2 separate regions of the Homo sapiens genome follow, and region 1 is linked to region 2. The links are contacts of gene promoters, found by promoter capture Hi-C in blood cells and fetal thymus (Javierre and others, 2016). All regions are on one chromosome and are shown on one strand. The core of a region is centred on a gene start or on the middle of the fragment in contact, and the rest is flanking DNA. Distances in the headings are between cores, read along the strand shown.

Evidence for each region. Contacts are between HindIII fragments. The CHiCAGO score rates a contact against its expected background, and 5 or more counts as called.
Region 1: a contact is called between the fragment with the promoter of DHRS1 here and the fragment with the promoter of TSSK4 in region 2, in 17 of 17 cell types (naive CD8 T cells, naive B cells, total B cells and 14 more). The highest score is 22.1, in naive CD8 T cells.

The regions. Positions count from the first base shown.
Region 1 is chr14:24,296,113-24,301,029 of GRCh38, forward strand. It overlaps DHRS1 (dehydrogenase/reductase 1), which reads right to left and starts at 3,668. Exons shown (of 9, transcript NM_001136050.3): 1 at 3,469-3,668; 2 at 2,845-3,018; 3 at 626-769; 4 at 397-476. The coding sequence starts at 2,994. NOP9 (NOP9 nucleolar protein) reads left to right here and starts at 3,738. Exons shown (of 10, transcript NM_174913.3): 1 at 3,738-4,089; 2 at 4,296-4,745. The coding sequence starts at 3,843. RefSeq lists an enhancer at 2,222-3,012. The HindIII fragment of the contact is 3,784 bases long and covers 26-3,809 here.
Region 2 is chr14:24,203,641-24,208,477 of GRCh38, forward strand. TSSK4 (testis specific serine kinase 4) reads left to right here and starts at 2,056. Exons shown (of 4, transcript NM_001184739.2): 1 at 2,056-2,508; 2 at 2,869-3,083; 3 at 3,476-3,869; 4 at 4,324-4,608. The coding sequence starts at 2,284. The coding sequence ends at 4,506. RefSeq lists an enhancer at 1-587. The HindIII fragment of the contact is 3,453 bases long and covers 1,337-4,789 here.

The DNA.
Region 1 (4,917 bases), core at 2,418-4,917, 94 kb after region 2:
CATTGGTGTTCGCTCCTTCTTCTTAAGCTTCTCCCAGTCTAAAATAAAACAATTTCTCCCTCTAACCATTTTGAAAGTATAGACTACAGGCTGTGCGCATTACTGAGAGGAGGAGGCTTCCTCCCTTCTGGGTCTTGCATTTGGATGGGCAGAGAGTGAGACAGGAGAGAGGCCAAGGGCTTGTTCCAATGAAAATTACTGACAGAGTTGACATTCTCAGGTACAGACTCACCTGGATGGAACTTCTCCAGAGGTAAGTGGGACAAATGGAATGGAAGGGAGAAGAAAGAGATGGGGGAGGCCGGAGGGAAAAGGAGAGGGCATGTAAGGAAAGGCCTGGCCGTCGAGTTGGCTAAGTGAGTGAGGGAACATGGGTCCTGGCAGTGGAGCACCCACCTGAGTCCGACGTTGTTGATATCATCCCACATGGAGGCAGGGGTTTCCCAGAATGCCTTATTCCTGGTGTTCAGGATCGTCTGGAAGGCACAGGGAGGGTGATGAATGATCTGAAGGTAGGGAGGTGTGAGGGGCTGGGTAATGGAAGGGACAATGAGTGGGGATGAAGATGCAGGGGTCTGAGGGGGAGGTCAGAAATGTGGAGTTGGGAACAAAGTTCAAAGGGTACCTGGACCCCTGCATAAGCATTGTTGACCAGCACATCTAGACGCCCTTGCTGTTCCCGATCCACTTGCTCAAACAGGCTTCGCACTTCACTCTCCTGGCTTGAATCGCACACCACAGGCACACATTGGCCCCCGAGGGATTGTGCCTGGAGTAGGACAGGGGATATGAGCTCACATTCACACATGGGTGTGAGTCATGACAAAACTCCCCAACCAAAGTGGGCTTGAGAACTGAGAAGACAATCAATCCTAGGAGAGCCTGCTGCAGAGGCAACATGGCAGGCAACGCTGCCCTCTGGTGTCTGTTTGAGTAGTTTCAGGAATGATAGGCCTCCCCACCACAGAGCAAGGTGAATTGCAATGTAAGTTTTAATAATCTACAAACATTTACTGAGGCCCACCATGTGCACAGCATTGTACTTTGCAAGTAGAGGGTAAGAACAAGTGAGGCATGGAGTCTGCTCTTGAGAAATGAGTAAGCATCCTTTTCCTTGTTGTGGTCATTTCCATCTCTCATGCCCTTAGCTCCCACCCTACACTACTCACCTAAAACCTCTACTCAGTCCCAGTTGTCTTACCCTCACTCCACCAATGCTCCTGGTTGGTAATTGAAAAAACCAAAGCTATCAGCCATGAATGATTTCTACTTCCTGTTCTGTCTCACTCTCTACAAATGCCCACAAACCTCCAACTTCAGAGGAAGAAGAGTCCTTTATCTAAGAACAATCCTCCTATTCTCCAAATTTATGCTCTGGGTCCCCGCCTATTACCCTCCTTGCCTGAACTACTGCAATGCCTCCCAACGACTCACCTGACCTCCAGTCTGTCTGCCTTAAATTAATTCTTCATAATCCAGCCAGTACGACCTATCTAAAACACAAACCCTGTTCAAAATCTCCTAACTGGATCTCCATCTCTTAGAGGATGAAGCCTGAGTTCTCTATTAGGGTCTTCCAAGACCCACTCTTTCCTCTCCAGCCTCTCACTCACTACTCTTCCCTTGCATTATCTCACACATCTACTCTTTCACACAGCGTCCCTATGCTTATGGAGCTCCCTCTGCTGGAATGCTTTTCCTAACTTCCTTTACCTAATTCTTACCTTTCAAAACTCAGTTCAAGAACCACCTACCTCCTCCAGGACGCTTTCCCAAACCACTTTCCCTAGCCACTCTCCTATGTCATCTGGATGCTCCCCAACACCCCTAGAGTATTCTGTGCATATCTCCCTCTTATAATTTACCATATTCACATTACATTGAAGTGACTGCTTTCTGTACCTGACTTCCTGTTGGAATCTATCTTCATTTTTAATTAAAATTTTTTTTTTTAGAGACAGGGTCTCACTGTCACCAGGCTGGAGTGCAGTGGTGCAATCATAGCTCACTGCAACCTCGAACTCCTGGGCTCAAACGATCCTCCTGCCTCAGCCTCCCAAGTAGATGGTACTACAGGTGCAGGCCACTGTGCCTAGCTAATTATTTAAAAAATATTTTTTGTAGAGACTGGGTCTAGCTATGTTGCCCAGACTGGTCTCCAACTGCTGGCCTCAAGTGATCTTGCTGCCTTGGCCACCCAAAGTGCTGGGACTACAGGCATGAGCCACTGTACTCCACCATGGACTGAATCTTTGAAGAGCAGAAATTAGATTTTATTAGTCTTGGTAACTTCAGTGGTTTACCAATGCCTAGCAAATCATGGATACTCAAATATTTATTTAACTGAAGTCTAGTAAATAAGTAAAAAATGTGCAGTTCAATAAAGTCTTGCCTGAAATAGAGGAAAGCACAGGTCCACAACCCTTTAGTTGCAATTCCAAAATCTCTGCTCTCAAACAAAAAGTTTTTTACTTTTCTTTCTTTTCTTTTTTTTAATACAGTGTCTCGCTGTGTCGTCTAGACTGGAGTGCAGTGGTGTGATCATGGCTCAACTCCTAGGCTCAAGCGATCCTCCTGCCTCAGCCTCCGGAGTAGCTGCTGGGACTGCAGGAACGTGCCACCATGCCTGGCTCAAACACAAAGTTTTTTCATAAAACTCACTTGGCGGCAAAATTCTACCTTACCTGAAGTTATTTACGGGGTTTTTAATTTCCACTTTGAATAAATATTCACATCTTGTTGAGTAGTATTATAGTTTCAGGTAAGGGATTAGGAAAGGAGCTGTTAAGTGGAAGGGCTCTCTCGGGTGGTTTCTGCAACTGTGGTCCCAGAGGAAGCACTCACCTCCTGAGCAACAACGCGAAGGGTGTCCAGATGGCGGCCAGTGATGTAAACTGTGGCGCCTGCTTTGCAGAGCTGCAAGGCAATGCCACGGCCAATACCCCTGGAGGCACCAGTCACCACACACACTTGGCCATTCATGGGAGCTGCCATGACTCACAGGCAAAGGAGGCAGGTCTGTGGAAGCAAAGACTTACTCTGAGGGAAGCCTGGAGACTGTGTGTGTGTTGGGGCGAGGTTGGGGGGTAGGGGAGAACCTCACTAGGGCTAAGAGGAGGAGCCAAGGTAAGAATCCTTTGAGGGGAGAGGAGTCAGAGGCTGACAACTGGGTGCGGGCCTGAGGACAAGGCTGACTGTCTTTTGGGAGGCCCAGAGAGTGAAGAAGGGGCTGAGTGGGACTGTCCAGAGGTGGACAACTACTACAACCCTCTGAGTGTGGCTGCCTGGATATGGGAATCTGGCGCGGCAGCCCCTCGGGGCGCGTCCACGCAGAGTCCTGGGCTATCTGAAGCTCCGGTCCCTGGCCTGACCCAGTCCGGCTGAGCCAGAGGCGCAGCTTCCGGGCCGGGGATGAGCGCGAAGCCTGGAGATCCTAAGCCCTAAGTGGGACGAGCGTGCGCCGCTTACCTGCCACCTGCGCTGCCGCTGAGGTCTGCAGATTGCGGGGCTGCGGTGGAAGTCTGGGTTCTCGCCCAGATTGAGCCGGCGACGTGGAGGCAGTGTTCAAGGATTGATTCTGTAGTAGGACCCGGGGCGATTCTGTGCTGAGGTAGAGGGGCAGAGTCCCAGGCCAAAGTTAGAACCTGCGGATGGGGGCGGAGCGATCTGGGTGACACACCCACCCCGCCCGGCTGGGGCGGCGCGGAACTATGACGTAGTAGCTGCGTCAGGAGCGCGCCCGCGTTTCTAAACTTTGTCTGGATAAGGCGCACGCTTGGCGACGTCGAAGGTCCGTCCGCAGTTAAGGAAGCTTTTGCAGCCGGACAGGTCGCGAAGCACACATGGGGCAGGGTCCGCGCTCTCCACACAAGGTGGGGCGCCGGTTCCCAGCTGGTGGCAAACGGGGGCGCGGGGCCAAGGGGTCGGGGCGCCCCTTACCAGGCCGTAAGCGGCAACCCTGGCCGCCTCCGGATGGGCGCTCGGAGCCGGCTCCAGATTCGCACCCGCACCTGAGCCCGGAAGCTCTGGGATATTTCCGCCGGGCGCTGTCAGCATTGAAAGAGGCTCCCGAGACTGGGGAAGAACGAGGTAGGCAGCAACTTCGGGGTTTAGACCAAGAGCATCAAATCCAGGGCAGGCAAGGAAACTTTCTAGGGTCGGCAGGGCGTGGGGACTTAGTTTCATTTCCCATGTCCTCTTCCTCGGCCTCCGACCCACGACCCTTGGTTAAGCGAGGGTACATAACTGTATTCTCTACTAAGTCTCTTCAAAGTGTGTCTTTCTTCCCTTTTCAGATCTGATGGTGCACAATATAATGAAGGAAGTAGAGACTCAGGCCCTAGCTTTGTCCACGAACAGGACTGGCAGTGAGATGCTGCAGGAACTGTTGGGATTCAGTCCCTTGAAACCGCTTTGTCGCGTGTGGGCTGCTCTGCGCTCTAACTTGCGCACTGTGGCCTGTCACCGATGCGGGGTCCATGTATTACAAAGTGCTTTGCTACAGCTCCCTCGATTGCTGGGGAGTGCTGCAGAGGAGGAGGAGGAGGAGGAGGAGGATGGAAAGGATGGTCCCACGGAGACCCTGGAGGAGCTGGTCCTGGGACTAGCCGCTGAGGTGTGTGATGATTTTCTTGTCTACTGTGGAGACACACATGGCAGCTTCGTGGTCAGAACTCTGCTTCAGGTGTTAGGAGGGACTATTCTGGAGTCTGAGAGAGCCAGGCCCCGTGGTTCCCAATCATCTGGTAAGTATTACAAGAGGAAAGTGGACCTAGGGGGAAGAAGAATTTAGAAAGTTCAGAATGAGACAGTAAACAGAAGAGTAAGTCTTCATGGGGGAGCTTGACCGGGAAGAATTAGCTTGACCTGTCCTAATCTGAACAGGGCTTAGCAAGCCAAAGATTAGTGTGTGCGGAG
Region 2 (4,837 bases), core at 806-3,305:
ATCCCAGCTACTCGGGAGGCTGAGGCGGGAGAATGGCTTGAACCCGGGAGGTGGAGGTTGCGGTGAGCCGAGATTGTGCCATTGCACTCCAGCCTGGGCAACAAGAGCGAAACTCCATCTCAAAACAAAAACAGACGGGGCGCGGTGGCTCATGCCTATAATCCCAGCACTTTGGGAGGCCAAGGTGGGCAGATCACCTGAGGTCGGGAGTTCAAGACCTGCCTGACCAACATGGAGAAACCCTGTCTCTACTAAACATACAAAATAGCTAGGCATGGTGGTGCATGTCTGTAATCCTAGCTACTAGGGAGGGTGAGGCAGGAGAATCGCTTGAACCCAGGAGTTGGAGGTTGTAGTGAGCCAAGATCGTGCCATTGCACTCCAGCCTGGGCAACAAGAGCGAAACTCCATCTCAAAAAAAAAAAAAGAGAAAAAAGGTCCTATGCCAAGTTCTCAAGGAAGATTTGGAGTTTGCCACAAATACAGAAAAGCAGTTGTGGATCATTACGTGTGTGTTAAAAAATAAAATTGGGGAGGTAAGCAGGATCAGACTTAAAGCTGTGTGAAAGAATTTGGATGGACTTGATCCTAAAGAGAATGGGGAGACACTGAATTGTTTCAAATGGAAATAAAATCAGATTTATGCTTTGGACTTGGGATGGACAGACTGGAGTGGAGCAGAAGGCTGGCGGGGGCCATCTGTTCGATGATGGAGGCGTGAACTAAGGGATTAGCAGTGGGCTCAGAAAACCATGAGAATATTATCAAAGAGAGAATCAGGAGGTATAAGAGATAGGATTTCGTGATAGATTGAATGTAGGGACTGAGGCAGGAGGGTCTGGGATGACATATGAGTGTCTAAATTAAGGGTGATTAGTGTACAACTCACAGAAAAGTCTGAGAGAAGAAAATAAGTTCAATTATTGATATGGTTAAGTTTGAGATGGATATGGTAAGTTCCATGCCTGGGGCAGACATGGCCACGTAATACTGGCTGCTCTATCTAAACTCCAGATATATGGGATGGAGATGAAATTAGGAGCAGTCAGCATAAATGTAGTATTGACACCATGGGTATGGACAAGATTAAGGGAGGATGTGAAGGTTTGAGAAAATAAAGCTTGTGATGTAACACTTGGGATATGATTAAGGGATGGATAGAGAAAGATATAACTTCAGTGAAGGCTGAGGAGTGACCAGAAGGATGTGGAGGAAAACTAGAGAGTTCTGGCTCATAGAAGATAAGGATGCATTTCAAGGTTAGATTTTCCTAGAACATGTTCAATACCTTACAATGGTAATACTTTCACACTCGTATTTCTCATGCTGCATTATAAGCTTTAGGATCATAGTGTCTCTATTGGCCTTATTGAACTAAGGGGGCTGCAATGGGCTCGGAAAGCCTTGAGTGTATCATTAAAGAGATAAGTAGGAGATAGCAGAGACAGGATTTGATGAAAGATTGTATGTAGGGATTGAGGAAGGAGGAAGGGTCTGGCATGACATTTGGGTGACATTTTATCCAAGTATTCAGCACAGTGTCTGGTACTTAGTAGGTACTCATATATCAATGAAAGGTCTGATCTTTAGGAGTTTCACCAGACTGTGGAAGGTGCCTCTGGGAATGAGTACGTTTCCAACTGCACTTCATTCTCTTTTTTTTTTTTTTTTTTTTTGAGACGGAGTCTCGCTCTGTCGCCCAGGCTGGAGTGCAGTGGCGCAATCTCGGCTCACTGCAAGCTCTGCCTCCCAGGTTCACGCCATTCTCCTGCCTCAGCCTCCCAAGTAGCTGGGACTACAGGCGCCCGCCACTACGCCCGGCTAATTTTTTGTATTTTTAGTAGAGACGGGGTTTCACCGTTTTAGCCGGGATGGTCTCGATCTCCTGACCTCGTGATCCGCCCGCCTCGGCCTCCCAAAGTGCTGGGATTACAGGCGTGAGCCACCGCGCCCGGCCGCACTTCATTCTCAAGTTTTGTGGCCAACGATGGATAGGAGGTGGATTGTGATGTATTCGGAACATGGGACCTTGAGGAGTTCCGTAACCAAAAGGAGAAAGTAACAACAGCCAGTGGAGACAAAAAGAACTGCTTCTCTTTCTTTCCCCCTCCAAGTTCCTAGTGGAGGGCTGAGTCCAGCATCCCAGACTCGTGTGACTATATAGGCAAGCATTTGGGGACCTACTTCACTTTGATACCCTAGCCTTCAGCAGCTCAAGGTGTTGGCCTTTGGATAGGAGGCTTCCAAGTAGTAAAGCTCCCTGCTCTCAGCAAGCCCAACACCATGGGGAAGGGAGATGTCTTAGAGGCAGCACCAACCACCACAGCCTACCATTCCCTCATGGATGAATATGGTTATGAGGTGGGCAAGGCCATTGGCCATGGCTCCTATGGGTCGGTATATGAGGCTTTCTACACAAAGCAGAAGGTTATGGTGGCAGTCAAGATCATCTCAAAGAAGAAGGCCTCTGATGACTATCTTAACAAGTTCCTGCCCCGTGAAATACAGGTTGGAAAGGGGGCTGGAAGAGGGAACTGGAGCTTGGTACTAAGCTGCTTGAGGTTTCTCAGAAGGGGTATGGCCAGGAGGGGTGGGGCCAGAAACCCCTAAACCAGAACTGAAATGTCTCACTAAGCAGCTAGGAAACTTTATGTAAGTTAAACCTCTTTCCCATCCACCCACTCACCTTCAGTCCCCAAAAAGTAAAGGCACAAAACATAGCATTTGCCCACAGGCCACCAGTTCTCTGGGGTTGAGGGGCTGATCCTATTGCAAAGTCCTAAGTCAGTAGCTGAGGGTAGGAGACGGCTGGGAGTGCAGTCAGGGTTCTCCCTTCCCAGGTTTGATGGGTCCTTCTTCTGGGGTCAGGTAATGAAAGTCTTGCGGCACAAGTACCTCATCAACTTCTATCGGGCCATTGAGAGCACATCTCGAGTATACATCATTCTGGAACTGGCTCAGGGTGGTGATGTCCTTGAATGGATCCAGCGCTACGGGGCCTGCTCTGAGCCCCTTGCTGGCAAGTGGTTCTCCCAGCTGACCCTGGGCATTGCCTACCTGCACAGCAAGAGCATCGTGCACCGGTGAGGGCGCTGCCACCCAGACTGGGGCCTTTGCCCTCAAGGGGGTTTTATGCACATCTCCCATTTCCTGTCCTTTTTTCCTCTTTCGAACTCCCTCCTCAATATCTAGCCTATTCATGCACTCTATTTTAATCATATGGTCAAGGATACTGATAAAGTACTCACTGTATGCAAAGCATTTTATGAAATACAATGGTGAGCTCCCGGTGGTCCTCAGATACCATCCTCTGTCTCTCTCCCTACTTTGGGCTCTGCTCACAACTCCATGGCTTTCCTTCCTCTCTACCTTGTGCCCTCATAATGGTTTCTACCTCCCACTTCCTCTGTCCTCATCTTTACCCTCTGACCCCTGGCCCTTCAGCTCCCAGTCTAAAACTAAGCCCTCTCCCCAGCCTGATGCCCAGCCTTTCTGCTGCTGGTAGGGACTTAAAGTTGGAGAACCTGTTGCTGGACAAGTGGGAGAATGTGAAGATATCAGACTTTGGCTTTGCCAAGATGGTGCCTTCTAACCAGCCTGTGGGTTGTAGCCCTTCTTACCGCCAAGTGAACTGCTTTTCCCACCTCAGCCAGACTTACTGTGGCAGCTTTGCTTACGCTTGCCCAGAGATCTTACGAGGCTTGCCCTACAACCCTTTCCTGTCTGACACCTGGAGCATGGGCGTCATCCTTTACACTCTAGTGGTCGCCCATCTGCCCTTTGATGACACCAATCTCAAAAAGCTGCTAAGAGAGACTCAGAAGGAGGTCACTTTCCCAGCTAACCATACCATCTCCCAGGAGTGCAAGGTACTGGCTACCTAAGGAGGGCTGAGCCTTCAGGGATGACCCACAGGGAGGGGTGAATATCCAACCTAGGTCACCCAACCTAGGCCTCCCAACCCTGGGGAAAGGCTCTTCCCACACCAGAGCCATCTCACACACTAGCTCCTGTCCTATAATAAACAGTATGGAAGGCATAAAGGGCCAACCACTAGGCTCCAAACCTTGCCTGATACACAGGTTCCAGCTTCTTTCTCTTTAGGCCAGAAGGGAAATATGGAAAGCATTCCTCCCAAGGAACTCTTCCCTTCCCCTCCAGGGAGTTAACTGCCTGGGTCTCCAAGATAAAATCAGAGCCACACCCACTTTGACCAGAGTGGTATGATGGGCTATCCTGCTTCTTTCTTAGGTCCAACTGCTCATTGCCTGTGTGGCACAATGGAGAAAAACTCAGGCAAGACCTCTCTCTCCCCTGCTCTAGAACCTGATCCTCCAGATGCTACGCCAAGCCACTAAGCGTGCCACCATTCTGGACATCATCAAGGATTCCTGGGTGCTCAAGTTCCAGCCTGAGCAACCCACCCATGAGATCAGGCTGCTTGAGGCCATGTGCCAGCTCCACAACACCACTAAACAGCACCAATCCTTGCAAATTACGACCTGAAAATGGCTGAGGGAGGGGGCTAAGAGAGGAGCAAAGCAGGAGGTCTTGGGCTAAAAATCTTTTTTACCAAAAATAAATCTAAGTCTGATTTAGTTTCATCAACTAGGGTCAAAGACATTCTTTTCTCAAGGCAATCTTATAGCAGGGAACACTGCTGGAGTAAGAGATAGATTTCTGCCCAGAGCCTGTAACCAATAATCTTGACACTGTGTTAAATCAATAGTGTAATTCATGATGTGGCTCTTAGGGGATGGGGTGCTCAGATTAACGCTCTATTTTGGGAAGCTTTATTATTCAACTCAACATATGCTCATTATTTTACATCTTTGTG